Regions from separate parts of the Homo sapiens genome. Here all the other regions are linked to region 3. Evidence: promoter capture Hi-C in 16 types of primary human blood cells and fetal thymus (Javierre and others, 2016). All regions are on one chromosome and are shown on one strand. The core of a region is centred on a gene start or on the middle of the fragment in contact, and the rest is flanking DNA. Distances in the headings are between cores, read along the strand shown. Region 1 has its middle 49 kb from the start of OR4E1. Region 2 has its middle 7.0 kb from the start of PABPN1. Region 3 holds the start of DAD1 (defender against cell death 1). Region 4 has its middle 170 kb from the start of OR4E1. Region 5 has its middle 150 kb from the start of OR4E1. Region 6 holds the start of BCL2L2 (BCL2 like 2). Region 7 has its middle 210 kb from the start of OR4E1.

Region 1 (4,019 bases), core at 794-3,293, 870 kb before region 3:
ATCAAACTTTCTGTACATAAACCTGTACCAGCATAGCAGTGAGCAAGAGGTGCAGGAGAAGGTGGATGACCTTTGAGTGCTGGTGATTTAGAATTAATTATCCAGGAGTTGTTTTGGTTCAGTGGCACATACATGTGGGATCGGCATTTGGTATAATGCACTCAATGGACAATATGACCTCTAAAGTTCTATTTAACTTATTCAAGCTTGATTCTGTAATTTTATTATGATAAGGAAGCTGCTTTCCAATATTATATTGTCTTTAATAGAAAGCAAATTACCAAAATTGATATTCCCCCTATATGATTTAAAGGAATATGCCTTTGAAGTCGGTAAAATATGGGTTAAAAATCTTTGTTCTTTTTCTTAAGGATGATGAGCAAATTATTCAATTTTCCTCAACTGTGGTCCCCTCATCTCTAAAATGGGGCATCTTAGGAAGAGTAAATGTGACAAAGAATGTAAAGGGTTTAATGTTATGCTCACGGCGACATTTGATGAATAATTTCTTAATTAATCTCAGAAATCAAAGCAGATAAGCTGAATAGCTACTGAGGCTATGTTGTTCAATTTTGAAATTTCAGTCTAGGCCCATGGAATTCTTTGGGTGCTGCTGGTTACTTTGTGTGCAGTGCATTATGTGGAGGTCCCTGAATCCTTCTCTATCTGCTGAGCAGTTAAAAGGCAGTTCTTTAACTGGAAGCAAACACGAAGACTAAACTGTCCTAGTTTTGAGGAAGAATAAGAAGGAGGAGGAGGAGGAGGAGAAGGAGAAAATGAAGATGAAGAAGACGAGAAGAAGAAGAAGATTAAGAAGAAGATGATTAAGGATTCTGCAACAGTTCTGTCATTGCAAATGACTACCCATTTCTAACCACGACATAAATTCAGAGGAAAACTTTCCTCTTTCTATAGCTGAACATGCTTAATTAATAAATATGGTTAGTTCCTTCCATAAGTATCCTTTAGGGGGAGACCACTAAACAATCAACCATTTCTAGCACAAAATTAAAAATATCAGTCTCCTAAATATTTAGTTCACTTGAGGCTCTTGGCATTAATTATTAAATGGATGAAGGCAAACAATATCTCAGCCACTTGCACGATCTAGGCATAATCTTGTGTGCTGTATCTGTAGAGGTCAGAGGAAGTAGGGATTGGAAAAATAATCAAGGCACTGAAGTCTACACTAGACTACTGTTTTAGTTAAACTTATTTTATTTGCTTTTTTATGTTGATCATATCATATGTTGATATATGCCCATATATGCGTTTATAGGGCAGCAATAAACTCCAGTGTCAGGAGGCTGGACAGTCTCTGTTTTCCTCTTCAGGTCTATTCTATCCTGCTCTGTACTAAAGTCTATATTAGACTATTGTTTTAAACTTATTTTATTTGTCTTTTTATGTTTGTCAAAATGCAGTATAGCTATGCCCGTATATGCATTTGTAGGGCAGCAATAAACTCCAGCATCAGAGGGCTGGACATTTCTCCATTTTCCTCTTCAGGTCTATTATATCCTGCTCTGTACCCCAGGAGGCTGACTTCTATACGTTATGTGGACTGGTCTCCCATGTCCATTGGCATCTGGTTGGGTTTACCCCAGTGGGAGGTATTAGCAGGAGAGAGTGGTCAAGATATTTGCATTTTAGGATCCTTTCTTTCCTCTACTGAAGTTTACAGCTCCTGTTGGGTCTACCCAGAATATGGTCAAGAAGAGGTATTTAGACTGTAAAGGGTCATGTCGCCTTTGGCCTGTGATTAGTTACAGGTGTCCTGAGATTAGGGTAATTTCATCTTCTCCCGTCCCTTTGGGCCTAGGAGTGGTGAAATCTTCTGGCTGTTATTAGCCCCAGGTGCTTCACCTTCCCTTGTAGTTTTCCCTAAATTTTGCACATACACTTAAAAATATTCTTTTTGTTAAGCTTTTTTTCAATGATTTTCTCGAGGCGATTGCCAGGACCCTCAAAAAGACAACACTAACACTCATTTTAGGCTTGAGGCAGAGAGAGAAGAAAGAGAAGAAATTCACTATATGTTTCCATTTATGACAAGTCTCTCTGGAACTTGAAGATTATTGTTTAAAGACAGTTTACCAATTCCAAAGAAAAACATTATTATATGGCTAAGTTTTCAATGATTAAATATGAGATCTTTAGCAAAGCTTTTAGAAAGAATTATGTTCCACTTTTTTTCTGATTCAAAGCAAAGAGATTTTTCATCCTTTCCTCAGAATATATAGTGAACATTATTTGGACACTATTCAAAAGAAACAGAAGGCAAATCAGAGGAACAACTTCTTTATATTGATACATGCTTTTTACATTAAAATTAAAATCTATCAAAGAATCACTCAGTTGCTATTGTTGCCTTTTTTTAGTATAAAACTTTAGCATGCCATCCCTTTCCAATGAACCCCTTTTCCCCATCATAATACATCAAGTTTCGTTAACCATACATTTTTTGCTGAATACGTACTTCATTTGAAGTCTGTTTTAAGTAGGCTCTGCATGTGGAAAGTACCTGTTTTGCAACCCCTTCTCAGAGTTTCATTTTTTTGTTTTATATGTACTGTTTAATATGACAAATGCTCCAAAAATATTTATAACACCTATTCGTACTTTTCTCACTCTAAAAATGTTTAAAGAGAAGATTCAAGTTTCTTTTTGCCCTAAAGATCATTATGGGATGGGCTCCTAATAGGCCCAACGTGGAGAAAATTCTGAGTTATTTTTGGTCAAAGAGGTTTACACAGAAGCCAGCTCTGAATTACTTCTAACGAGAAGAGCAAGGCTCCTGTTTTCGCCTGTCATTTATCTTCTCTTGCCTTACTCTTTTCTCCTATTTTGCTTTTTCTTATCTCTCACTTTAAATTTTTCTCTCCCTCTTGATGCAAAGCTATATTTTCCTTTCTTTTTCTGTGCATTTTCCCATCCTATTTCCCTTCTTTCTGTCTCTACATTATCTTAAGAGAGCACAAATCATTTACAGCTTGATCCACTCAGCCTGAATCTTTTCCACTTTGATTCACAAACTTCTATTTCTTCTCCTTTGAACCCCTAATTTGCTCCCTATGTCCCTCATGGAGCGTGTAACCATCCAAAGGTTGGCCCAGGGATAAGGCCAGGAAGCACCAGCTGCTTGACAGTAAAGTCGCTGGTCCTACGTGTGGGCTCTAGGGGGCGATGCAGTGTAAGGTCTGTCCTGGGCATAGGCGGAGCGGCAGTCTTGCTCCTCACAGAGCTTTGAGGAGCTGGATCAAAATTGTGCTCCACAGAGAGAAGATACCGGTGTCGGGAAGCACCAGTGCCCTGAGGAAGGGCCATTTCCAAAAGCCCTGTGCTGACACAGGGTTGCTGGTTCCTCTTCAAGAGCCCACTCTCTGGGGTGGGGCCATATCTCCAGCAGAGGTGGGCTGGAAAGGACCCCCCCAATCCCGCCCGCCGTGAGCTTAGCTGGAGCCATGGCCTCTGCACCCATCTCGATGCTTGCGATGCTCTTCACATTGAGTGAGTAATATCCCCTTCCCATTTTCCACTCGCATGATCCACTTACATGCTCTCCAGCAGCTTCACTGATGCAGCATGATTAATTTACAGGTGGGCTGAGAGCTCAGTCAGTGGCTCAGCCGGAAGATCAGGTCAACGTTGCTGAAGGGAATCCTCTGACTGTGAAATGCACCTATTCAGTCTCTGGAAACCCTTATCTTTTTTGGTATGTTCAATACCCCAACCGAGGCCTCCAGTTCCTTCTGAAATACATCACAGGGGATAACCTGGTTAAAGGCAGCTATGGCTTTGAAGCTGAATTTAACAAGAGCCAAACCTCCTTCCACCTGAAGAAACCATCTGCCCTTGTGAGCGACTCCGCTTTGTACTTCTGTGCTGTGAGAGACACACACTGATAGGGGCTGCAGGGGGAGCAGAACACAAACTCTTGAGTCTGGTAAAGCCCATTTTCTTGAAGTCTTTGTTCCTTCACATGAGAACGGTGTGCTTCCAGGATATGTCACTTATTA
Region 2 (3,681 bases), core at 132-2,631, 740 kb after region 3:
TGAGCCAGGAGAATGGCGTGAACCCAGGAGGTGGAGCTTGCAGTGAGCCAAGTTCACACCACTGCACTCCAGCCTGGGTGACAGAGTGAAACTGTCTCAAAATAAAAAAAGGAATAGCCGAATTACTGACCTAATGGCGCTTTTGTGTGCTCCTGATACAGCTTACGTGCAAATGAACTATCCATGCCTGCAGCCCTAGAGCTTTGGATTGGGGTCTGGGTAACCTTGTCTTTGGGGTCTCGCTATGTTGACCAAGCAATCTTCCCATCTTAGCCTCCCAAAGTATTGGGATTACAAGTGTGAACCACTGCACCCAGCTACCTTTTCTACCTCAAGGTGGGCCCAAGAAATGCAGAAGACAAAATACACTTAGCTAAGAGACAATCGGAAAGCTTGTTTTTCCAACCATGCAGTAACCATTTAATGTGTCCAGCTAACTTATATTAATTGGATCATTTATTTTTTTGAGATGGTCTTGCTTTGTCACCCAGGCTGGAGTGCAGTGGCTCACTGCAGCCTCAACCTCCCGGGCTCAAGTGATCCTCCCACCTCAGTGTCCTACATAGCTGTGACTATAGGTGCCTGCCTTCACACTTGGCTAATTTTTTGTAGAGACAGTTTTGCTGTGTTGCCCAGGCTGTCCCAAACTCCTGAGCTCAAGCAGTCCTCCTGGCTTGGCCTTCCTATAGGCGTGAGCCACAGCTCCTGGCCAGGATTAGTTTATTAGGACTTCACAACTGGCTTTCACTGTTTTCATATCTAAATTTTGTCTTGGGCATCCTAATTTCTCCATTTTTTATTCCAGTGTCAGATTGGTCTTAAAACTTGAACACTACATCACTAGCCAGGTTGAACCTTCAGACTTCATTACCTATAGAATTTCTTAGTATTTCAACCTTACTATTTTTTCATTTACTTCTCAGGATGTTTTGTTCACAATTGCCTCTGACCTGGATGCTCTTCAAAAATCATATGTTAAAGAAATGGCTCTGTGGCCGGGCGCAGTGGCTCACACCTGCAGTCTCAGCACTTTGGGAGGCAGAGGTGGGCGGATCACTTGAGGTCAGGAGTTTGAGACCAGCCTGGCCAACATGGTGAAATCCCGTCTCTACTAAAAATACAAAAATTAGCCAGGTGTGGTGGCATGCACCTGTAGTCCCAGCTACTCTGGAGGCTAAGGCAGGAGAATCGTTTGAACATAGGAGGTGGAGATTGAGGTGAGCTGAGACTCAGCCACTGCACTTCCAGCCTGGGTGACAGAGCGAGACTCTGTCTCAAAACAAACAAAACAAAAAACTCTGTTATATCTGAAGCCTTAACCCACCTCTCAAATTGCAGTATTTTCTAAAATCTCATGTCAGTGTTATCCACCACATATTTTAGGATTTGGTCATTTATTCTACTTTCTGTTATGGGTTAGGCATTTGAGGTCTATCTTTTCTCCTAACTAGATTCACCTAAAATAGTGCCGTGATCTCTGTGGCTTCTGCAGAGGCTGATTAGTGAGGGTCTGGATAGTGTTCAATATAAACTTTTTACTGGAAGAATGAAACAGCCTAAGTGACTTGTTGCTGTTAATGCTGTGATGGTCTCATCTGTCCACCAGGGGGCACTAAATGGCTGGCTCTAAAAGATCCCCATAAATTGTTGGGTATTGGAGGGTGAATCATGTTTTGACCCTTCTCTGGTTTAGTTTTCCATATTCAGTCAATTCTACCATATCTTGTCTGTTCTCTCTATTCCTACTTTCACTGCTTGAGTAACTCCCCATCATCATTGCAGGGGTCCTGGCAGATGTATTGGCTTCAAATTTTTTTTTGAAAAATAAAAATTCCTAAAAAAAGTACTTTAAAAGATAGGGTCTCGCTATGTTGGCCAAGTTGATCTTGAACTCTTGGCCTCAAGCAATCCTCCTGCCTCGGCCTCCCAAAGTGCTAGGTTTATAGGCGTAAGCTACCATGCTCAGCCTCCAAACTTCTTATTGCCAAAAAAAGCCCTCTATGATGCCACCAATAAGTACAAAGTCCAAACACAAGCATGGAACTACAACCTTTTTCAATCTGATCCTGATTACATTTCTCTTCCAGATCCTGCCCTACACCTGATGTACTATGCATTGTAGTTGTTATTTATTTTCATGTATCCCTCATGCTGTTCCCTCTAGCCTGCTATGCTCATTCCAACTCTTCTATGAAAATCACGCATATCCTTCCAAGTGTAAGCCAGGTACAACAGACATGAAGCCTTTCCTGATTTCCAAGTCAGAAGTAATCACTCCTGCAGTCAGGACAAACTGTTCCTATCCCTGTTTAATATTTACTTTGTGGTTTTATAATGAAACTAACTACATTTCTGTTTTCCCACTAGAATGCAAGCTTCTTCTTTTTTTTTTTTTTTTTTTTTTTTTTTTTTTTGAGACGGAGTCTCGCTCTGTCGCCCAGGCTGGCCTGCGGACTGCAGTGGCGGGATCTCGGCTCACTGCAAGCTCCGCTTCCCGGGTTCACGCCATTCTCCTGCCTCAGCCTCCCGAGTAGCTGGGACTACAGGCGCCCGCCACCGCGCCCGGCTAATTTTTTGTATTTTTAGTAGAGACGGGGTTTCACCTTGTTAGCCAGGATGGTCTCGATCTCCTGACCTCATGATCCACCCGCCTCGGCCTCCCAAAGTGCTGGGATTACAGGCGTGAGCCACCGCGCCCGGCCGAATGCAAGCTTCTTGAGGGCATCAATTGTGACTTTGTGTCTGCCTCACAGGGCCTGCCATTTAGTAGGTGCCCAAAAGTTGCTTATTCACCCTGGGCTTGCCTTTCCTGTCCTGGAGAAGGCGGTAACAACAATAGTGTTGCCTTTTACCTGGAGCTGGTAGTTTTCTTCCTCTTTTTTTTTTTTTTTCCTGAGACGGAGTTTCACTCTGTCGCCCAAGCTGGAGTGCAGTGGTGCCATCTCAGCTCACTGCAACCTCCACCTCCCAGGTTCAAGCAATTCTCCTGCCTCAGCCTCCTGAGTAGCTAGGATTACAGGCATGCGCCACATGCCTGGCTAATTTTTTGTATTTTTAGTAGAGACGGGGTTTCAACATGTTGGTCAGGCTGGTCTCGATCTCCTGATCTCGTGGTTAACCCACCTCGGCCTCCCAAAGTGCTGGGATTACAAGCGTGAGCCACCATGCCCGGCCTTTAGTTTTATTCTTATAAGAGTCAGACTATTTTACTTAAAAGAGACTAGGTTTAGAGGAAGAAGCATGGAAAGAAAGTTACTTTCCTCGGGCAAGCTTGGTTATTTTTGGTGGATGATTTCTGTCAGTCACTCCTGATCGGCTCTCTGTTAACTGAGGGATAGAAATGAGCCCAATCTCACTGGAGTTCCATGGGAAGAAAGAGACTGGGAGAGCCTGTGTATAAAACCTGTCTGGGGTGAGGGTCTGTGAGTCAGAGATCCTTAGAGGGCCTTTGGATGATGCAAAATAAACCGAGGCAAGCCAGTGCTTTTTAAGGTAGGATTTGCCCAATCCGACGTTGGCAATGGAGAAAAGAAACAGTTGGTGGGTTTTTACAATAATATTGCTGCTTTCCTTGTTTTTATGTATGGTTAGAATGAGCAGCCTTTCTCAAATTATGATCACATTTTATTATTATTATTATTTTTTGAGATGGAATCTTGCTCTGTCGCCTAGGCTGGAGTG
Region 3 (3,774 bases), core at 1-2,500:
GATCTGCCTACCTCGGCCTCCCAAAGTACTGGGATTACAGGCATGAGCCACTGTGCCAGGCCTCCAGACAATTCCAATGCTGTATTTTGTCTGTACCCCAACTAGACCATAAACTCTTTACGGATAAAGAACATGTGCCAAAGCTTTTACCATAATGCCTCATATTGGACTGAAAATACAACTGATGACCTGACTGATGATCACACTGAAAAGAAACCATGAATGCTGGCATGTTTTCAAAGTCAAAGTAGCAGGTGATACCAGTGATAGAGGCCACGCCTGTTTTCAGTATTCACTGAATCCCCGTTGGGCAAGAAAAGTCAGATTTTAACAAAAATTGATGGAGACTGTTCTCGCTAAATATAGCAGTCTACAAGGTTACCAAATCCTGGAATCAAAAGGAAAAATAAGGCTAAAATAGAGTTATGTGAACAAAAATTGGGTTCAGGACAGTGAAATAACAGCTTCCTCAACAAGAAAAAAAGTAGTAGCAGCTAAAAGGCAAAATCAAGTAAAGGATGATTCAACAAGAAAAGCACCAGTATTTATATTCTTTGCACTTTCATTGAAACGTTTCACCGGAGATTGGTAATGATTAGGCCAAGATGACAGAGATGATTCAAGGTTGGGTTTTTCATTTGAAAAGTCTACTAATTTTAGAGTTGTGTTAAACCTAAGTTAAAGTTGGAATAGGGTTTTCCCCGGACCAATATTAAGTGAAGTGGATCACCAAGTGGAGTAGCGGCACGAAGGTGGTTTCTTTAGACTTTTAAGTCCAACTCCTACGGAGCCGTTTGGTATTAGGCATATAATCTAAGCTTTCTGAGCCTCAATTTCCCCATTCACAACAAAAGGGCAATGCAGGCTCTTCTCATAACTTCAAGGGGCGGTGGTCTGATATAGAGTACTATGAAAACAAAAGCAGCACACCAAAGTAACACATTATTATTATGATCACTTATAGAACCATTACCCGCTAGGATGAAACTCCCCACACAAGAGATGAAGCCCGAGAGAAAAGAGTTGAAGGGGAAGGTCCCCACGAGGAGACAGTAACCGAACTGCAGCGCCCCGGTCAGCAGTATATACAGCAGGTACGCGTCCAGCAACTTCAGACGCTGCGGAGTGGAGCTCAAGTACTCTTCTAAGAACCGCGAAATGACAGACACTACCGACGCCGACATAACTGCACGCAAGGTACTCCGGTCCGCGCCCCAAACTCTTGGAGGACCCGTCGACCACACCGGATGTGCTGTTTGCGCATGCGCACCCTCGTGACCTAACTCCGCCCTCCCCGGTGTGCCAATTTGCGCAGGCGCTGAGGCCGGCCAGGGCGCGTAACAACTAATGCGCAGACGCGGACTGCATCAACAGACTCAACTACAACTCAGAAAAGTTAATGCGTCTGCGCAATGGCCCTATCAATGAGCTGGGGACGTGTACTCTTTCTGTTCTGTTTCCGCCCGTCAGCTCGGTGACGCCCACAGTTGCTCTGGCAACAAGACACACTGGGAGGAAGAGGGGAATAAGCTTTACTGGGGACCGCGTAGCTAACCAGAGGTATCCGGCTCTCTCTGGTCCTTCTGAGTCCTGGAAGATTTAACGGTTTGCATCTACTTTGAGGCAATGCCTGGCGTTCCTGGGGTTTGATACCAGCCTGACCCTAATTCTGTTAAGGGCGCTGTCTGCAGATGTCTGTCACAGATCATTGGAACAAGTCAAGTTCATCCGCAGTGAGACCCGGCGCGGCCAATCACTGCACAGGCCCCAGTTTAGACTTAATTACTTGGGGGAGTGAGTGGGTGTGGTGAGGGGCGGGAGGCAGGGAGGAAGCCTGACCTCAGCAGGGTTCTGAACTGGAACTCGGGATCTGGCCCTGCAATGCCAACATTTATTGGGCGCCTCCTTGGGGCCTGACGTTGTACTAACTTGTAGGGACTCTCACGTGAATCAGATATATTTGCAGCCTTAAAAGAGCTGGTGAAGGGAGGGACAGCTGTCGAATGTCGTGCAAAAAGCATATGGTCAAGTTTAGCAGCTCTCTTTCCGCAAGCTGGTATCTTGAACCTGGTGTAATATCCCGGGATGTCAGCGTCGAAAGGCCCGAAAGAGCATGCCTGGTTCAACCCTACTCTCTCCAACTCATTTTGCAGAAGAAACTGAAATGGTTTCAGGTTTTGTATTTTAACAAGTGGGATTATTTTGAGGGTTTTAACTGTTTTTTTTTTTTTTTTTGAGACGGAGCCTTGCTCTGTCGGCCAGGCTGGAGTGCAGTGTCGCGATCTCGGCCCACTGCAACCTCCGCCTCCCTAGTAGCTGGGACTACAGGCACGCGCCACCACGCCCGGCTAATTTTTGTATTTTCAGTAGAGACGGAGTTTCACCATTGTTAGCCAGGCTGGTCCCGAACTCCTGACCTTGTGATCCGCCAGCCTCGGCCTCCCAAAGTGCTGGGATTACAGGCATGAGCCACTGCACCCGGCCTGTTTTAACTTTTTTTAAGAAATTAAGTTCTGGCTTTCGTTGCCCTTTTAATTTCACGTGAATCCGACCTTCTAGACCCAGTTCATCTCACCTTTTAGCTGTAAGTTTTTCCACACATGACCAGGTACTTTATTTTCAGCTTCTTAATATTTTGAACTGTACGTGAGCAAAATTCCTAAAACAGCAGGTGAACAACAGCGTTCCTGCCTTTTCACTTTTTTTTTTTTTTTTTTTTGAGATGAAGTTTTGCTCTTGTCACCCAGGCTGGAGTGCAGTGAATGGTGCGATCTCGGCTCACTGCAACCTCCACCTCCTGGGTTCAAGCCATTCTCCTGCCTCAGCCTCCCGAGTAGCTGGGATTAGAGGCACCTGCCACCACGCCCGGCTAATTTTTGTATTTTTAGTAGAAACGGGGTTTCGCCATGTTGGCCAAGCTGATCTTGAACTCCTGACCTCAGGTGATCTGCCTGCTTCAGCCTCCCAAAGTGCTGGGATTATAGGAGTGAGCCACTGCGCCGGCCCCTTTTCACTTTTTATTTGCCTTTAGACTGGAAACTCTACACGCATTAACTAACGGATGTATTATCAGTGGTGATCAAAGCCTTACTTAAGTTCTAGAAAGAAGAGAAATAACCTAAGAAACCTTTAGAGTCTATTTGAATAGATAGATTTATATTCATACCCGTGGAGATTTGTGCAGCTATATGAACATAAGTTCAGCCTAAACCTATGTTGCTGAGAAAGAAAAAAAAAGAGTGGATAACAAGCTGGTTCTTATTTCAATATAATATGGCAGGAAGCATCAATTTCTCTGACAAGTTGAACCTTTCTCTCTGCCTCATCAACAAGTAGGAGGGTAGCTTCCTCACGAATATTCAACTTCAAACTTTACAGGCTAGGCTGATGCTTTTTAATCATTCAGGTGTGGATTCTTCAGGGAGTTTCTGTTCCATCAGCCAGGCTCCTTCCAGTGTTTTCTCCCTTATGTTTTGTCTGCCTTTGATCCATGTCAACTATCATCATTAAGATCTCCCCAGGAACTCTCACAGGAGAGAAGAAGAGATGAAAAACACCAAATGGACTTATTGAATGCATTTGTTTCTGAGACCTGCTAGTCACACCAATATACTACACTAGGGCTTTTCTGAACTACTTAAAACAGCAAGAAAAGGCCTACTTCTCTATTCGGTTTATGATTCTATAATCATTGAAACATTTTTAACTGATCTGTCAATAGGAAATTGCTAACACTAGTGTTGATTTCAATTAGTTTAAATCAGAATATTAATA
Region 4 (4,049 bases), core at 222-2,721, 740 kb before region 3:
GAAGCTCAGCCCAGACTGAGACAACTGATCACCACCCCTCTTCTTGATGAACGACTTTACTAATATAGAGTGTCTCAATGGTTTTCCAAAGTCTACAACGTTGTCTTCTGTGACTAATTTCTCAGGGAAGTAAATTACTCTTCTATTTCTACATAATTCTCATTTCTCATGTATTTAAAATTAAAACCATATACTCTACGGAAGATGACGTCATCACAGATTCGGGAAGAAAGAAACACTTTCTGTTGGTTTTGATATCACATCTCTCAAATGAGAAGGAAACAGTTCACTTCCTTGGATCTGTGGTTCCACCTGTGCCCTCCAGGGGGCGACGTTGCACTAAGGAGGCATCTGTGTTCATTGCCGACCATCCTCATCCACTGAGCCTCCTCCCTGCAGCTGGCTGATGTAGCTCACTGATGTCTGTGTAGATAGGGAGCTGTGACGAGAGCAAGAGGTCAGAACACATCCAGACTCCTTAAGAGAAAGCCTTTCTGTTTTGGAAACTTTTCAAAGCCAGGGACTTGTCCAGCCCAACCTCCCCATTGCTCCTAGCTCCCGAGGCTCAGGACCCCTGGCTTCTGTCCTCCCTGCTCAGGGTCCTGCAGCGTTGCCTCTGCTCAGCCATGCTCCTGCTGCTCGTCCCAGTGCTCGAGGTGATTTTTACCCTGGGTGAGTAACATTCCATTCTTTTTCCTCCTTTTGTAAATGTGACTGTGTTGTAATTGCCTCTAAGTAGACTTCTTAGCGAAGTCAGCGCTGCTTTTGCTTACACAGCATTGGTGTTGCAGGAGGAACCAGAGCCCAGTCGGTGACCCAGCTTGACAGCCACGTCTCTGTCTCTGAAGGAACCCCGGTGCTGCTGAGGTGCAACTACTCATCTTCTTATTCACCGTCTCTCTTCTGGTATGTGCAACACCCCAACAAAGGACTCCAGCTTCTCCTGAAGTACACATCAGCGGCCACCCTGGTTAAAGGCATCAACGGTTTTGAGGCTGAATTTAAGAAGAGTGAAACCTCCTTCCACCTGACGAAACCCTCAGCCCATATGAGCGACGCGGCTGAGTACTTCTGTGTTGTGAGTGACACAGTGCTTGAGACTGCAGGAGAGCTGAACACAAGCCTCCTGAGATGCTGAGACTTTCTGTGACTCAAGAACTCGACCTTGAAGTCTGTTTTATAATATTAAATAGCAATTCCAAGTTTCTGATGCTTATTGATGTGTGCTGTATCTTTTTCATCTATTTATTTTTAAACTATCTATGACTTTAAATTTAAAGTGTGTTTCCTTTAGGTAGCTTTATATATAAGGTCTTTCTATCCACTATGTCAATCTCTGGTTTTGCACTGGCTAGTTTAGATAATTATAATTTAATGTATATTGATGAAATTGGATTTTAGTATACTATGTTATTATTGTGTTTCTGTTCCTCCCTTATTTTTTGTTGTTCTTTTTTTTTGCTGACACTTTTTGGATTATTTGAACATTTTTAACACTATTTTAATCTATGGACTTCTTTGGTTATATTTCCATATTTTTTGAGTGGTTGCTCTGGAGATTATAATACATATGACTAACTCTCCAGGGTCTTCTGTGATGTTGTACCTCTTTATGTAAAATGTAGAAATTTTTGTATAATATGTCTCTTTATTATACAATAATAATTGTCTCTTCAACAAACACTGAAGTTTGTTGTAGTCGTTCATGTATATCAAAGCTACCTATATTGGAAAGCTCACCATATAATGGTACAATTTTTGTTTTAAATAATTGTATGGACCGTATAAAACTCACTAGGAATAATAATATTTCGTATTTAACAGCTATTTACTAACTCTGGTATCCTTCCTTTGTTTCTAAAGTAAGTTTTCCTCTGACACCAGGAGATGTGTTTGAACTGATGTCATTCCCTTCAAACTTAAAAAACTCCCTTTAACATTTTTTCTAGAGTAGGTTTGCTGGTAATGGTATTTTTTAGTCATTTGTTATCTGAAGATGTCTTTATTCTTAATTTGCCCTTTATTTGTGGAAGATATTTTTACTGGGTCTGTAATTCTGTGCCAACCATTTTCCCCCCTCACTTTAAAGATACTGTTTCATTGTCTGCTGGTCTCCATGTTCTGGTTAGAAATCTATGGTCATTCAAGTAATTGTTCCCCAATGATATTAATATGTTGTTTTTCTCTAGCTGCTTCATATATATGCTATTTGTACACACACATACACGCAAGTAAAATCATATCATCTTTTGTTGTCCTCAGTATAATTATGATGTTTACATGTGGTTCCCTTTAATTTGTTCCTGTTTGGGGCTTAAATTCATAAGTTTGTCTTTCTTTGAATTTGGTAAGTTTTTGGCCATTCTTCTTTCAAATATGTTTTCTGGCGCAATCTCTTTCTCTTCTCCTTCTAGGACTCCATTAGTTACAACTTAGACTTTAGGACACTTTCCCACTAGCTCTCCATAGCTCTATTTTGTTTTCTTTCAATTTTTTTCTTGATTTTAAGGTCTGCCTCTACTCACTAGATCCCTGTAGCATTACATACCCCATGTTGTGACACCCAAATTTCTATCTAGATTTGTCAAATGTCTCCTGAGGGGAGCAAAGTCAAAATTAGTTAGGTTAGATAACCTATACTGGTCTATTTTCAAGTTTGTTATTCTTTTCTCTATCACTTTCATTTTGCTATTGAGCCCTTACTGTGACATTTTGATTTTGGATATTGTATTTCTCAGTTCTAAAATCTCCTTTTTTTTTTTTTTTTTTTTTTTTTTTGAGACGGAGTCTTGCCCTGTCACCCAGGCTGGAGTGCAATGGCATGATCTCGGCTCAGTGCAACCTCCGCTTCCCGGGTTCAAGCCATTTTCCTGTCTCAGCCTCTTGAGTACCTGGGATTACAGTTGCGTGCCACCACCCCTGGGTTTTTTTTTTTTTTTTTGGTATCTTTAGTACAGATGGGGTTTCAACGCGTTGGCCAGGCTGGTCTTGAACTCTTGGCCTCGTGATGCGCCTGCCTCGGCCTCCCAGAGTGCTGGGATTACCCATGAGCCACCATGCCTGGGCTAAATTTTCCCTTTTTTAACTTTGTGGTACATAATCAAAGAGCTACTTTAACGTCTTTTTCTATTACTTCTAGCATTTTAGTCATCTTGACCTTTCATCTGTTGATCTTTTACTTAAATATTAGTCCACTTTTCTGATCCTTTGTATGTCCAATAATTTTGAAATGCATATTAAACATTTTAAATATTAAGGGTGTAGACTCTGTTTTCTTCTTCTCCTTCTCATCCTTATTCTTCTTTACAAAGCATTCCTCTGAAGAATTTTGATGCTTTTGCTTTAGCAGGAAATCAACCTAGTTTGGTTCATACTGTAAATTTTCTCTTCCCTTTTGTGGAATTTGGTAGCTCAAAATCTCAGTTCAGTTCTCTAATCATTTGCAATGTTGGTTTGGATTTATCCAAGTCATGTGTAGCTTAGGGATTAGTGTGAAACCTGTTTGGGTGGCTCAAATATCAGGTCAGCCCTGAGCTCTCTGCTACATTGGTTTTTTTGTCCTGCATTGGTGCCACTCAGGAGGTAGTCTGAGACTGAAATAGTGGTTCAAATATCAGTTGAATAACCCAAGCTTTGTTGATCTGGTTTGAGTCAGTCCCAGGTACATGGAGCTTTGGGATTAGCCTGAGACTTGAGCTGTTTTCCATTTCTTCCTTGGGGTCTGTCTTTTCTAGCCTGGTCCACAGAGGCAGAAAGATTGTGTCTCTTTCTGCACAATCTTTTGGTCTCCTGCACAATCTTCCGCACCTCTTTTGGTCTCCTATACCATTGTTATTGCCACCCTACCATACACCAGGGGCCTTTCTAAGGGCAAAGACAAGAGAGAAAAACAGGAAAAAATATGAAATAAAAGGCTTGCACAAGTTGCTTCTCCAACGTTTGATTTTGTCTGCTTTGAGTAATTTCAGAGGCCACAGATAGTTATTTTTTTGTGTGTTTTGTTCAGTTTTCACTTGTAACCTGTAGGAGAGATGGGCTGTAGGCGTCTT
Region 5 (3,537 bases), core at 338-2,837, 760 kb before region 3:
TTATTTTTATAGTAAGTTAGTGGAGAGTTTTAGCAAAGTTAACATAGTAAGTCAAGGGAATATTTTCTTAGGATTTGGGGTGAAGATGTAGTCCACTGGGATAGGAGGAAGGGAGAAAATGGGACCATTTTCTGTTTCACTTGGGATTCATTGTGGGGAGTAAGGAAGGGATGCAAATTAGACAGTATTAATACTGGATGATGGATCTCTTGAATCTCACTTTTCTTTCTGAATAGGGGGGAATGGCAAAAACCAAGTGGAGCAGAGTCCTCAGTCCCTGATCATCCTGGAGGGAAAGAACTGCACTCTTCAATGCAATTATACAGTGAGCCCCTTCAGCAACTTAAGGTGGTATAAGCAAGATACGGGGAGAGGTCCTGTTTCCCTGACAATCATGACTTTCAGTGAGAACACAAAGTCGAACGGAAGATATACAGCAACTCTGGATGCAGACACAAAGCAAAGCTCTCTGCACATCACAGCCTCCCAGCTCAGCGATTCAGCCTCCTACATCTGTGTGGTGAGCGCACTGTGCTCCACAGGCACTTGAAGCCAGTATGCAAACCTGCACCTGGAGGTTATCAAGGAGGCATAGGAGTTAGAGTAGACCGTTATTTTTTATGCAGAATATGATTTCACTAGTGAATATTTATCTCTCCGACATGATTTGATTTGAGCTTGAGCCTAAAGTTCTACTTAGGCTCAAGTAGAATACATGTCCTCAAGCGAGGATAAAGACATTCTCACTCAACACACAAAGTTAATTGCTACATCTGGGTGTTCCCAAGGGCAAGACAGTCTGTCATGCTGTGTTACTATTGCTGAAGTAGATGACAGTGTTGTTTGGAAGGGAGAGACTAGCTTGGTTTTTGATCTGGACACCTACCAGCAGAATGTCAACTAAGTGAAAGAGCAACAAGTTTATGTGGCTGATGGAAATTTTTTTTTTTTTTTTTTTTTTTTTTTGAGATGGAGTCTCACTCAGTCGCCCAGGCTGGAGTGCAGTGGCGTGATTTCGGCTCACTGCAAGCTCCACCTCCCGGGTTCATGCCATTCTCCTGCTTCAGCCTCCTGAGTAGCTGGGACTACAGGCGCCCACCACCACGCCCGGCTAATTTTTTTGTATTTTTAGTAGAGATGGGGTTTCACCGTGTTAGCCAGGATGGTCTCGATCTCCTGACCTCGTGATCCACCCATCTTGGCCTCCCAAAGTGCTGGGATTACAGGCGTGAGCCACTGCTCCTGGCCGGAAATATCTTGAGAAGTTTCCTTCCCCTGAAAGACATTCAGTTGTCATTTCATGGCTATTCAAGTTCTCAGAAAGCATCCTGTGAGAATAAATCTGCTCTTCCCATTTAGCTATGCTCCAGATCAAGGCTTTTGTCCAGGTGCTGCATCAACTCTTTATTATCTTCCATCACTGCTCCTTTAGAGGACACTGGAAGGCCAGGGGATCCTGGCAGACACAGTCACTCTCAGGCAGCAGAACAACTGTGCCAGGCTTTTCAACCATCAGTGTTCTAGAAAAGAGACTTAGGGACAGAATGCCTACCTGCAATTGTGAACTCTGGTTTTCACAACTTAGCTGTGAAGTTCTTTTTGGGACAATTAGAGAAATGTACATATAATTTGAGAATTAGATGAGAAAAGTACTTATTTAAAAGGCAGATATCAACTGTAAAAAAATGGGAAGAATATATACTAAGATATTAAAAATGGTAATCCTTGTATTGTGGGAATATAATGTTTTTACTTTTTATCTTTCCTTGTCTTCTGTACTTTTAATTTTCTATAGTTCTCGGATTTTTCTTCTGTCAAAATAAAGATTATTAAAAAATAACAAATGTCTTAAAAAATTTAAAGGAATGCATCTCATCTGTCACTATCAACTCACAGGAATTGATATTTAAAGATGATCACACATTTCAGGATATTGTTGAATAAGATTGATTTGTTATGCTTATGAGCACTGCAAGTAAGTTCATTTCCAAGTTCAGTGAATTGATAATTTGTGAATAAATGAAGCCAGGACCTGGACTGTTCTTTGTAACTAGTCTGGAGATAGCTCAAGTGTCAAGACATCAAAATGCCTTGACTTCTGGAGCAAAAAGTAAACCTAGATATATTCAGTAATCAGATATTTTTTCCTGTCCTGTATCTCCTTTCAAGTCTTTAGAGTGAAGAAATTAAAGTTCAGATTGCTGCTACAGCAGACTTGTGTGAGTAATCATAAACTAATTGAGGAAAAAGATAAAATACATGAAAATGGAATCAATAGGTAAAATTCCAAGTACGTGGACAAATAAGTTTTAAAGGTATTCTCAGGAGGAGATTACTGTGGGACAGAAAAGATAGGAGAAAGTATCATGGGGAATAGCAAATTTAGTTAGGTCTTGAAGGAGAGACACACATTGAATTTGTTCATTACACAATTATTTATTAAACAAATAATGAGGCCAGGTGCCGTGGCTCATGCTTGTAATCCCAGCACTTTGGGAGGCCAAGGTGGGCGAATCACTTGAAGTCAGGCATTCGAGACCAGCCTGGCCAACATGAAGAAACCCTGTCTCTACTAAAAATACAAAAATTAGCCAGGCATGGTGGCATGCACCTGTAATCCCAGCTACTAGGGAGGCTGAGGCAGGAGAATATCTTGAACCCAGGAGGCGGAGGTTGCAGTGAGCTGTGATTGCACATCTGCACTCCAGCCTGGGCGATGGAATGAGAGTCTGTCTCAAACAAAACAAAACGAAATAAAAAACAAATAATAAGTGACAGGTGTTTTTGTAGGTAGAAGGAGTAGGGTAATAAACAAAATAGATAAATGCAGACACAAAAGACCTTCCATTACGAGGCTTGAGTCTATGTTTGTCTATTGCGTTCACTTTCTTTTACAGGAATATCTTGGGAAGTTTGCATTCCAATATAGGCATTTCCTTGCTTGCTTTAGTTTAGTTTAGTTTGCAGGTTTCATATGGTGAGTAAAAGGCACAGGCATTGAAATGCTCTATCTATCACTTACTAAATTGCATTACTCTGGACAAAATTACATAACTTCAGAGCACCTACGCGCCATCAATGGTAATTACACGTACATCACATGGTCATAAGGATTGAATTAAGTTAAGTGAATTTAATTAAATGATTGAATTGCATTGGTAGAAAATAATTTTTCAACTAATGGTAGTTATTCTTGGACATAAATGATAAAACAAAGGTAATTTAAAATAAGACAATAAGAAACTTTAAGTATAGATTAAGGTTTGCCTTTCCACTCTTCTTCTGTTGATTATATTCTTTTACTACAGTTATGGCCGAGAGTCACCCTTTATTTCACATTGGCCTTATTCCATTCAATTATTTGAACTGACAGTATTGGCTTTCTTGTTTGTTTGTTTGTTTGTTTGTTTTTATCTCATAGGTTTTCTGCACAGAAAATGAAGCTTTCTTGCTTCCGGTGTAATTTAATGTAAATTCTATGATGAATCCACATGAGCTTTATGGAGCAGGACTCCGATATAACACCATTATACTGAC
Region 6 (3,910 bases), core at 379-2,878, 720 kb after region 3:
TGGATTCAGACTATGAGAACCATATTGACTATGTGAAGGCAAGAGGTGATCTTGAAGCGATAGTGTCAAAGTTACAGCATGAGATGGCTGTGCTAGCTTCTTACATATCAGCCTATGGCTTTGGGAAAATCACTTAACCTCTCCAAACCTCAATTTCCTCATTCATAGAATGAGGATAAAACAGCATAAGGACTGGTGAGAGGAAAAAATACACATGTAAAAAAAGCACAGCATCTAATAACTCCTCAAAATATGTTAGTTTTTACCTTTTTTTTTTTTTGAGATAGAGTCTCGTTCTATCACCCAGTCTGGAGTGCAGTGGCATGATCTCAGCCTCCTGGGTTCAAGTGATTCTCATGCCTCAGCCTCCTGAGCAGCTGGGATTACAGGCTGGCTAATTTTTGTATTTTACGTCTGGCTAATTTTTGTATTTTTAGTAGAGATGGGGTTTTGCCATGTTGGTCAGGCTGGTCTCGAACTCCTGGCCTCAAGTGATCCACCCGCCTTGGCCTCCCAAAGTGTTGGGATTACAGGTATGAGCCACCGAACCCAGCTAGTTGTTACTGTTATTGCTGCAGAAAAGACCTTGCTTCTCCAGTGACCATAAGGGAAGATGGTAATACAGAGGCTTGGATTGGAGGTAGAAGCAAAGGGAGCTAGCAGAATAGGAGAATTAGGTTGCCTCTTTCTGGCCTTTGGTTGGGGCACTCTTTAAAAAAGTGCCAGATCCAAGAGCCCAGGGGGCTGGCTGTGAGTGCCCTCATGTGGATCAGCTATGGTCAGACTGCTTCACGCCTGTGACCTGCCCTGTATAAATATACTGCCATGTATAAATAATGGCCCCATATATATGTAATCTGGAAGGATAAACATCAAGCTTAACACTGGCAACCTGCAGGGAGGGAAGTGGAATTGGGTGTGTATGTGTGTGTGTGTTTGAGAACCTGTATTTTATTACTCCGCACGTCTTTATTGTTTGATTTTTTTCATAATGAGAATGAGTTTGTGTGTTGGGTAAAAAAAAGAAAAAGAAAAAAACCCCACTAAAATCAATCTAATTACAAAAGAAGATGAATTAAAGAAAAGTACCGAGAGAAACTGCTTGTGATCCAAGTCCTGGCTCCCTAATGCCTGGCTGAAGCCCAGCCCACAAAGAGAACACTGGGTTAAAGGTCCTGGAGAAAAGATGGGAAAGGTTTGGTGTCTATGTGGTGTCTGCTAGCCCCATAAGGGTAAGGCACCTGGTAGACGGTTCCCAGCTTAATGGGAACTGCTCCTGTTTTCCAGGCACACAGTTCAGGGCTGGAAAAGTTCAACAAGTGCATGGAACATCGGAAACCTCCTGAAAATGCTAAATTTGCCCCGAGATGTCCCGAAGTCCGGCATATTTCTCTGGGCAGCCTAGAGGCTCAGGAGCCCAGCCCAGCCCAGCCCACCGTGCCCTCTCAGCCAGCCCTTCTTTGCCTTCAGCAGCCCTCCCTCTTCCTGAGTAGTGGCCCTTTGCAGGCCTGCGTCCCAGCCCCGCCCCTCTCTCTGGACGCATCTCTGGGCCCCATCATCACCCGGCGCCGGGCCCTCCCTCTGCCCCCCCCTTTCTCCTCCCTCCTTCCTTCCCTCCCTTCCTCCCTCTCTCCCTCCCTCCCAGCTCCTGCACCAGGAAACGGCCCGGATCCCGGCAGCGGCCTGACCCGTGAGATCCCTAACCTGGCAGGCGGGCGGGGTTGGAGACTGGCTGAGGTGGGGGTAAGGGAGGAGCTGGGCCTTTGGGCTGCACTAGGGGGAACCGGGAATAGAGATGGTGTCGGCAGGAAGCCCTTGGCCTTGGGTTTCCCGGGAGGACAGTCATTAAACATGGATTCGGCCACACAGCTGGTAGAGCGTTGGGGGCAGGGGCCTAGGCCCAGAGCTGCAACCCTAGCCCTTCCCAGGCCAGAACCTGATCCCTGGCCTTCCCCTCCTGGTTCTGATCTCCCCCTCCCCTTTCCAGGGCTCCACGCTGGCCAGGAGGATGAAAGGCCCCAGCTGGGGGCTCCTTGCCACCAGTGCTGTGTCTTAAGAGCTGCCATCCCGGCTGGGTGAGTGTCTCCTTCCTTTCTCTGTCTGGAGTAACCCATTGCGTCTCCCACCTTTCTCTTCAGCCCATCTGCTCCCCCTCATCTTGTGTCTCTGCCAACATCTTTACATCTTGCATTTGGGGAGGTCCTAAGACCCTTCCTCTAGCCAAGAAGGTGTGGACTAAGGAGACCCGGGGGTGGGGGTGTTGTAGGGGTGTCATTGAGCTGACGTTGTCTTATTGTGAAAAGAATCTAAAGTATCCTAAACAGAAAATTTACTTGTTTTACATTTAATTTGGCATATTAGGAATGTAATGGCCAGCCACTCACAGCCTAGTCTCATATCATGACTTAATTCCCTTGTTCTTGCCTCTCCCTGTCCAGTGAGTCCTGAGCATTTCCTCTCTCCTCCTCATCTCACTGGGTTGGTCAAACCAGAAGTGCTCCTTCTGATTCTCTCTTCATATATTCATGCCAGTCTTTCATCCTTGCCTCTTATAGCCGCCCGGATGGCGACCCCAGCCTCGGCCCCAGACACACGGGCTCTGGTGGCAGACTTTGTAGGTTATAAGCTGAGGCAGAAGGGTTATGTCTGTGGAGCTGGCCCCGGGGAGGGCCCAGCAGCTGACCCGCTGCACCAAGCCATGCGGGCAGCTGGAGATGAGTTCGAGACCCGCTTCCGGCGCACCTTCTCTGATCTGGCGGCTCAGCTGCATGTGACCCCAGGCTCAGCCCAACAACGCTTCACCCAGGTCTCCGATGAACTTTTTCAAGGGGGCCCCAACTGGGGCCGCCTTGTAGCCTTCTTTGTCTTTGGGGCTGCACTGTGTGCTGAGAGTGTCAACAAGGAGATGGAACCACTGGTGGGACAAGTGCAGGAGTGGATGGTGGCCTACCTGGAGACGCAGCTGGCTGACTGGATCCACAGCAGTGGGGGCTGGGTAAGAAGCTTCTCAATTGCCGCTCTGCACATCCTTCTGCAAAGCTGGTCTCCAGGGGGAAGATGGGGGCTCTGATTGGAGGCTGAGGCAGCTATGTTGGGAATGAGGTACGGGGCTGAGTCTCCCCGTCTGGATGGAATTAGATTGAGAGATGCCTGGACTCTGCACTCCAGGGCTGCCATGCAGTCAACACTGGATGGGCTCATGGTCCCAAGCAGAGGACAGAATACACACCCAAGGAGTGCCTGCAGGGGAATGTTGTCAGGGACTTTTTACATCTGAGTCATGGCGTGGGAGGTGGGGAGGACCAGGGATGGGTGGTGGTCAGGCAAGCCTTGGCAAAGGATGCTAGTTCTGAGCAGAATTTTTCGCCAAGGAAAGGATGGAATTCACTGGAGGCAGAGTGGGCAGATGAACCAGTCTCTCAGGGTGGGGGTGCACCTGGGGGGATCAGAGGGGCTTGCAGGGAGAAGAGCTTTGGCCAGAGAGGAGCTGGGTATGGGGTAGTGCTCGCAGTGGATGGAACTGGAACTCTTCCTCTCCTCTTCTCTCCACTCTTTCCTCTCCTGATATCCCTTTCTCCTTCTTTCTCTCCTGCTTCCCTTCTCTCCCACAGGCGGAGTTCACAGCTCTATACGGGGACGGGGCCCTGGAGGAGGCGCGGCGTCTGCGGGAGGGGAACTGGGCATCAGTGAGGACAGTGCTGACGGGGGCCGTGGCACTGGGGGCCCTGGTAACTGTAGGGGCCTTTTTTGCTAGCAAGTGAAAGTCCAGGGCCAGGTGGGGCTAGGTGTGGCTGGGGGCCAGGAGAGCAGGAACAGAACAGAGAAATGCCCTTGGAAGAAGTGGAGTTGGTGGATGGGTGGGCATGGAACAGGATGGGCAGAGAAAGGGTAGTGTGTGAGGGAGCTGAGT
Region 7 (3,925 bases), core at 395-2,894, 710 kb before region 3:
TATAAAATGTGCATTTGATGTGCAAGATATTTTTTCCTAATACAAATTAAAATAATGTTACATATATAACAGTCAGAAAGACCATCTGTGTTCTGCCTAATATGACCTCCTGTATCAATCGCACTTTAGAAAATACATTTCCAGCTCATGCCCCTCATTTGATAGATGAAAAAAAGCAGGCTCCACAGGCATGGCTTCACTTTACTCAAAGCATGTGTTGCAGTGAAATGGAAGCCTGGAGTAGAAGCCAGGCATTCTGGCCCCTTGTCAGTTGCTTTTTCCATGAAAGATGAAAAGCGGGATTCGGTGTTTGAGAAAAGGAGTTGTGTGTTGTAATTTTGAACTAAATTACATTTTTATTACTTATATGTATATATAAAGATATAAAATGATATATAAAGACATAAAACACCCAGAAAAATAGAACACACCTATAATTTCATAATCAAGAAATTATAACTATTATCCTGTAAAAAATTTTGGTATACATATGTAGCTATTTTTTCTATAAAAGTGGTTTGCAATATATCCAGTATTTATTACCATGCTTGTTTTTCTCAACATTATGTTTAGGTGTTTTCATCCCAGGAAGCTTATATTGAAGGCACAGTTTTATTTTATTTTCTTTTATTTTCAACCTTTATTTTAGATTCAGGGGGTAGTACATGTGCAGATTTGTTACCTGAGCATATTGCATGATGCTGAGGTTTGGTGTATAAATGATCCCATCACCCAGGTACTGAGCATAATACCAACAGTTATTTTCTCAGTCCTTGCCCCTTTTCTCCTTCCCCCTCTAGTAATGCTCAGTATCTACATGTAGTCTTTATGTCCATGTGCACTCAATGTTTAGCTCCCACGTATCAATGAGAATATATGGTATTTGGCTTTCTGTTTCTGCATTGATTTGCTTAGGAAAATGATCTCTAGCTGCATCCATGCTGTTGCAAAGGATATGATTTCATTCCTTTTTATGGCTGCATAGTATTCCACGGTATTTATGTGTCACATTTTCTTTATCCAATCCACTTTTGATGTGCACCCAGAGGGCATAATTTTAAGTGATTGCCTAGTTTCCATTATATAGATATATTTTAAAAAATTTATCACTTTTGGTATTATTTCCTCTTATACAGTGTTATAGATAATGCTTCTTAAAAACATAATTAAATTTGTAATTTTAATGGAAATAGAGTTGCTTGAATAAGGGAGAACATATAACACTAAATGCCTAATGTTCCTGAAGATATATTTCACCAAAGTGTAATTTCAACAGCAGCACATGGTGATGCTGATTTTTCAATACTTTATCAATTATGACCATTATTATCTTAAAGTAGCTTCCATTTTATTAATAAACACTTTAGCAATGTTTTAGTTTTCTTTTAAAGTGTGAGTTTATATATTTTATTATTAAAAATGTGATTTAAAAACAGAGTCCATCACATAGAATATTCTTTCATACAATAAGATTTTTTAAAAGGTTTGAAGAATACTGTTCTGGCCCACATTACCTTCTATTAGGCTGGTGCAAATGTAATTGTGGCTTTGCCATTACTTTCAATGGCAAAAACCGCGATTATTTTTGCACCAACCTACTAACTGGTCTCTTTTTCCTCAAGGCAATCTATTCTCCATGCTTTTGCTACTCAGAGTCGGGGCCAGCACTGTCTGGACTTGTGCAGATGCTCAGCCTCCACCCAAGGCTGACTGAATTTGAATCTGCATTTCGTTAACATTCCCAGGTGATTCTATCACTTCAAAGTTTGAGAAGCACCCATCTGATGGGTTCCCAGAACGATTTTTTAAAGTATAAATAAAGAGATGTCTCTAATTGGCAAACATGCTTCAATGGCTTTCTATTGCTCCTGGAATAAAATGCAAATTTAGGCTGTGGCATACAAAGATCTGTATCATTCAAACCTCCCCTGTCCCTTCAGCTTTAAACTCTTTTTTCCTGGCTTTCTATGCAGCAAAAACACTGACCTCCTTTCAGATTTCTGAACTTGCCATGTCCTTTCCACATTTAGTCTAACTCTCTCAATCATCTGCAGTGCTCTTACCCTAAATCTTGGTGAGCCTGACTCATTTTCATTCCTCAGGTCTCAGCTCAAATACCACTGCTATAGAGAAAACCTGCTGACTTCTGCTGATCATCCTGACTAATGTGGCCATCATGGCTTTTCCCCTAACTCTATTACAACACCCTTGTTATATTTCATTACGGTAATAATCATAATGTGCAGTTATATTGTTGGTCTACGTGTTTATTGTCAATGTGTTTATTGTCTATATCTCCACCTAGGATACAGGCTTTACGAGGTCAGAGGTATTGTTTGTTTAGTGGACAGCTTTATTCTTAGTGCTTAGAATAATGACTGGCCTATAATAGTCAGTCAAAAAAATATTCACTAAATGATAAATGGATGGATGTTATTTGGCCCTCCTCTTTCCTTTTTTCCTTCCTCTCAGTCTCACCCTAGCAACTTTGACCTCTTTTTGTGTTCTCTCTGCTTCATTATGTGGGGCAGCTCAGTTCTTTCTCACCCTTGCTCCCAGACTCAAAACCCAGCCTTTCTGTGCTCAGTGAACTCTGGTCAAATAGTTAGATCCATTCAGGGTCTCAGCCTTTCCTCACTAAAGTGACCTCACTTTATCAGATGTGATCTGAAGCACTTAGTCAACTCTAAAGGCTAGTAACACATGATGAAATATCTAAATGAAGAAAAAAACACTTAAAACATTTTAGAAAGTATAAAAGTAACTTCTCAAGTCCAATAATTATGAGCTGAAGTCAAAGTTATAATTCAAATTACTGTAAGAGTAAATGCCCCTCAGGAAACAAATTCAAATAAATAGCCTTGGTAGACGTGTTGTAGATCAGATTTTTAAAAGATCTGGTTTAAAGATATTTACGTTCAAAGGACTGGTTCATAATTACCCTGCTTTTGACCATCTGTGTAGTGGCTATTAGGCTTCTCAAAAGATTAATAGTCATTTGAGTTGGTAACACTAATTTCCCAGAAGGAGTCTTTATTTCATTAAAGTATATTATAAAATTGCTCAAGCATTTTATTGGAAGTGATGGTTAATTACCTATGGGGCTATATACATTACATCCTTCAAAAAAAGGTCTCTTCCAGACTAGTTTGGAGAAACTTATCTTTCTCACATGTAGTTCAAGCCTTTACTATAGTAGAGAAGGGTGTTATCAGTTCTTGGTTTTTTTTCCCTCTTCCTGCAAGCTAATAAGTGTGTTGTTTCATCCAGGTTTTCAGTAAAGACATGAGACTCCTTAGTCAGAGACAAAGGATTTTGTTACTTATGGCACAGCAAACAGCCTAAACATTAGTAAGTTCACTTCAGTTACTCTTTCCTTAAGTCCCCAAAAGATGATACAGTGAGTGCTGATGAGTAGTTTGCATGCAGTGGTGCTGTGTCATAGATGAGGAACTCTGAGCCTGGGAAATTTATAGCAACAGTAAACAGTAAGCCAGCTTGCTCTTTGTCGTACAGGGAGTCATTAACTCATCCCTTAAGGTTGATTGCTGCAAGCCTAACTCTGAAAAGTGGTCCTGGTAGGGAGGTCATGGCTTTACACTATTGGCATACCCAGCAGGTCATGTAGGGGTACAAGAGACTCATAGTGGACTGTCTTTCAACACTATCCACTCCATGGTCTTATGTCATGTTAGCTGCTGGAAATTTTTCTTATGAGTATTCCACTCCATCAGTCATTCTGATTAATTTGACTAGAGAGGTAGAGAGTAAACGCATAGAATTTGTCTTACACAAGATTTAATTAAGGCTACTGTCAGTAGAACTCTAAGCATGAAGAGGAGACCAACCTGCAATAGCAACCTCAATCATGCCTCATAGGATCCTAGATTCTCCCAGCTGTGAATAAGTCCCAAAGTACAGACAG

The links. Contacts are between HindIII fragments. The CHiCAGO score rates a contact against its expected background, and 5 or more counts as called.
Region 1: a contact is called between a fragment that was not itself captured here and the fragment with the promoter of DAD1 in region 3, in 1 of 17 cell types (naive CD4 T cells). The highest score is 5.3, in naive CD4 T cells.
Region 2: a contact is called between a fragment that was not itself captured here and the fragment with the promoter of DAD1 in region 3, in 1 of 17 cell types (monocytes). The highest score is 5.3, in monocytes.
Region 4: a contact is called between a fragment that was not itself captured here and the fragment with the promoter of DAD1 in region 3, in 6 of 17 cell types (total CD4 T cells, non-activated CD4 T cells, naive CD4 T cells and 3 more). The highest score is 11.1, in total CD4 T cells.
Region 5: a fragment that was not itself captured here is called in contact with the fragment with the promoter of DAD1 in region 3 in 6 of 17 cell types (fetal thymus, naive CD4 T cells, non-activated CD4 T cells and 3 more); the score reaches 7.3 in fetal thymus.
Region 6: the fragment with the promoter of BCL2L2 here is called in contact with the fragment with the promoter of DAD1 in region 3 in 1 of 17 cell types (total B cells); the score reaches 5.5 in total B cells.
Region 7: a contact is called between a fragment that was not itself captured here and the fragment with the promoter of DAD1 in region 3, in 2 of 17 cell types (non-activated CD4 T cells and activated CD4 T cells). The highest score is 6.2, in non-activated CD4 T cells.

What each region holds. Positions count from the first base shown.
Region 1 is chr14:21,720,425-21,724,443 of GRCh38, forward strand. It overlaps TRA and TRAV3. Among named protein-coding and RNA genes, the nearest start is that of OR4E1, 49 kb to the left of the region's middle. The HindIII fragment of the contact is 239 bases long and covers 1,925-2,163 here.
Region 2 is chr14:23,326,609-23,330,289 of GRCh38, forward strand. No RefSeq gene overlaps it. Among named protein-coding and RNA genes, the nearest start is that of PABPN1, 7.0 kb to the left of the region's middle. RefSeq lists a silencer at 1,585-1,674. The HindIII fragment of the contact is 1,983 bases long and covers 391-2,373 here.
Region 3 is chr14:22,587,974-22,591,747 of GRCh38, forward strand. DAD1 (defender against cell death 1) reads right to left here and starts at 1,251. Exons shown (of 3, transcript NM_001344.4): 1 at 974-1,251. The coding sequence starts at 1,184. RefSeq lists enhancers at 248-889, 890-1,531. The HindIII fragment of the contact is 712 bases long and covers 817-1,528 here.
Region 4 is chr14:21,846,136-21,850,184 of GRCh38, forward strand. It overlaps TRA and TRAV8-2. Among named protein-coding and RNA genes, the nearest start is that of OR4E1, 170 kb to the left of the region's middle. The HindIII fragment of the contact is 4,315 bases long and covers 1-3,629 here.
Region 5 is chr14:21,825,549-21,829,085 of GRCh38, forward strand. It overlaps TRA and TRAV10. Among named protein-coding and RNA genes, the nearest start is that of OR4E1, 150 kb to the left of the region's middle. The HindIII fragment of the contact is 3,707 bases long and covers 1-3,441 here.
Region 6 is chr14:23,305,205-23,309,114 of GRCh38, forward strand. BCL2L2 (BCL2 like 2) reads left to right here and starts at 1,629. Exons shown (of 4, transcript NM_004050.5): 1 at 1,629-1,690; 2 at 1,988-2,075; 3 at 2,556-2,995; 4 at 3,612-3,910. The coding sequence starts at 2,564. The coding sequence ends at 3,761. BCL2L2-PABPN1 (BCL2L2-PABPN1 readthrough) reads left to right here and starts at 1,629. Exons shown (of 8, transcript NM_001387346.1): 1 at 1,629-1,690; 2 at 1,988-2,075; 3 at 2,556-2,995. The coding sequence starts at 2,564. RefSeq lists an enhancer at 2,488-3,321. The HindIII fragment of the contact is 2,126 bases long and covers 876-3,001 here.
Region 7 is chr14:21,878,986-21,882,910 of GRCh38, forward strand. It overlaps TRA. Among named protein-coding and RNA genes, the nearest start is that of OR4E1, 210 kb to the left of the region's middle. The HindIII fragment of the contact is 5,895 bases long and covers 1-3,925 here.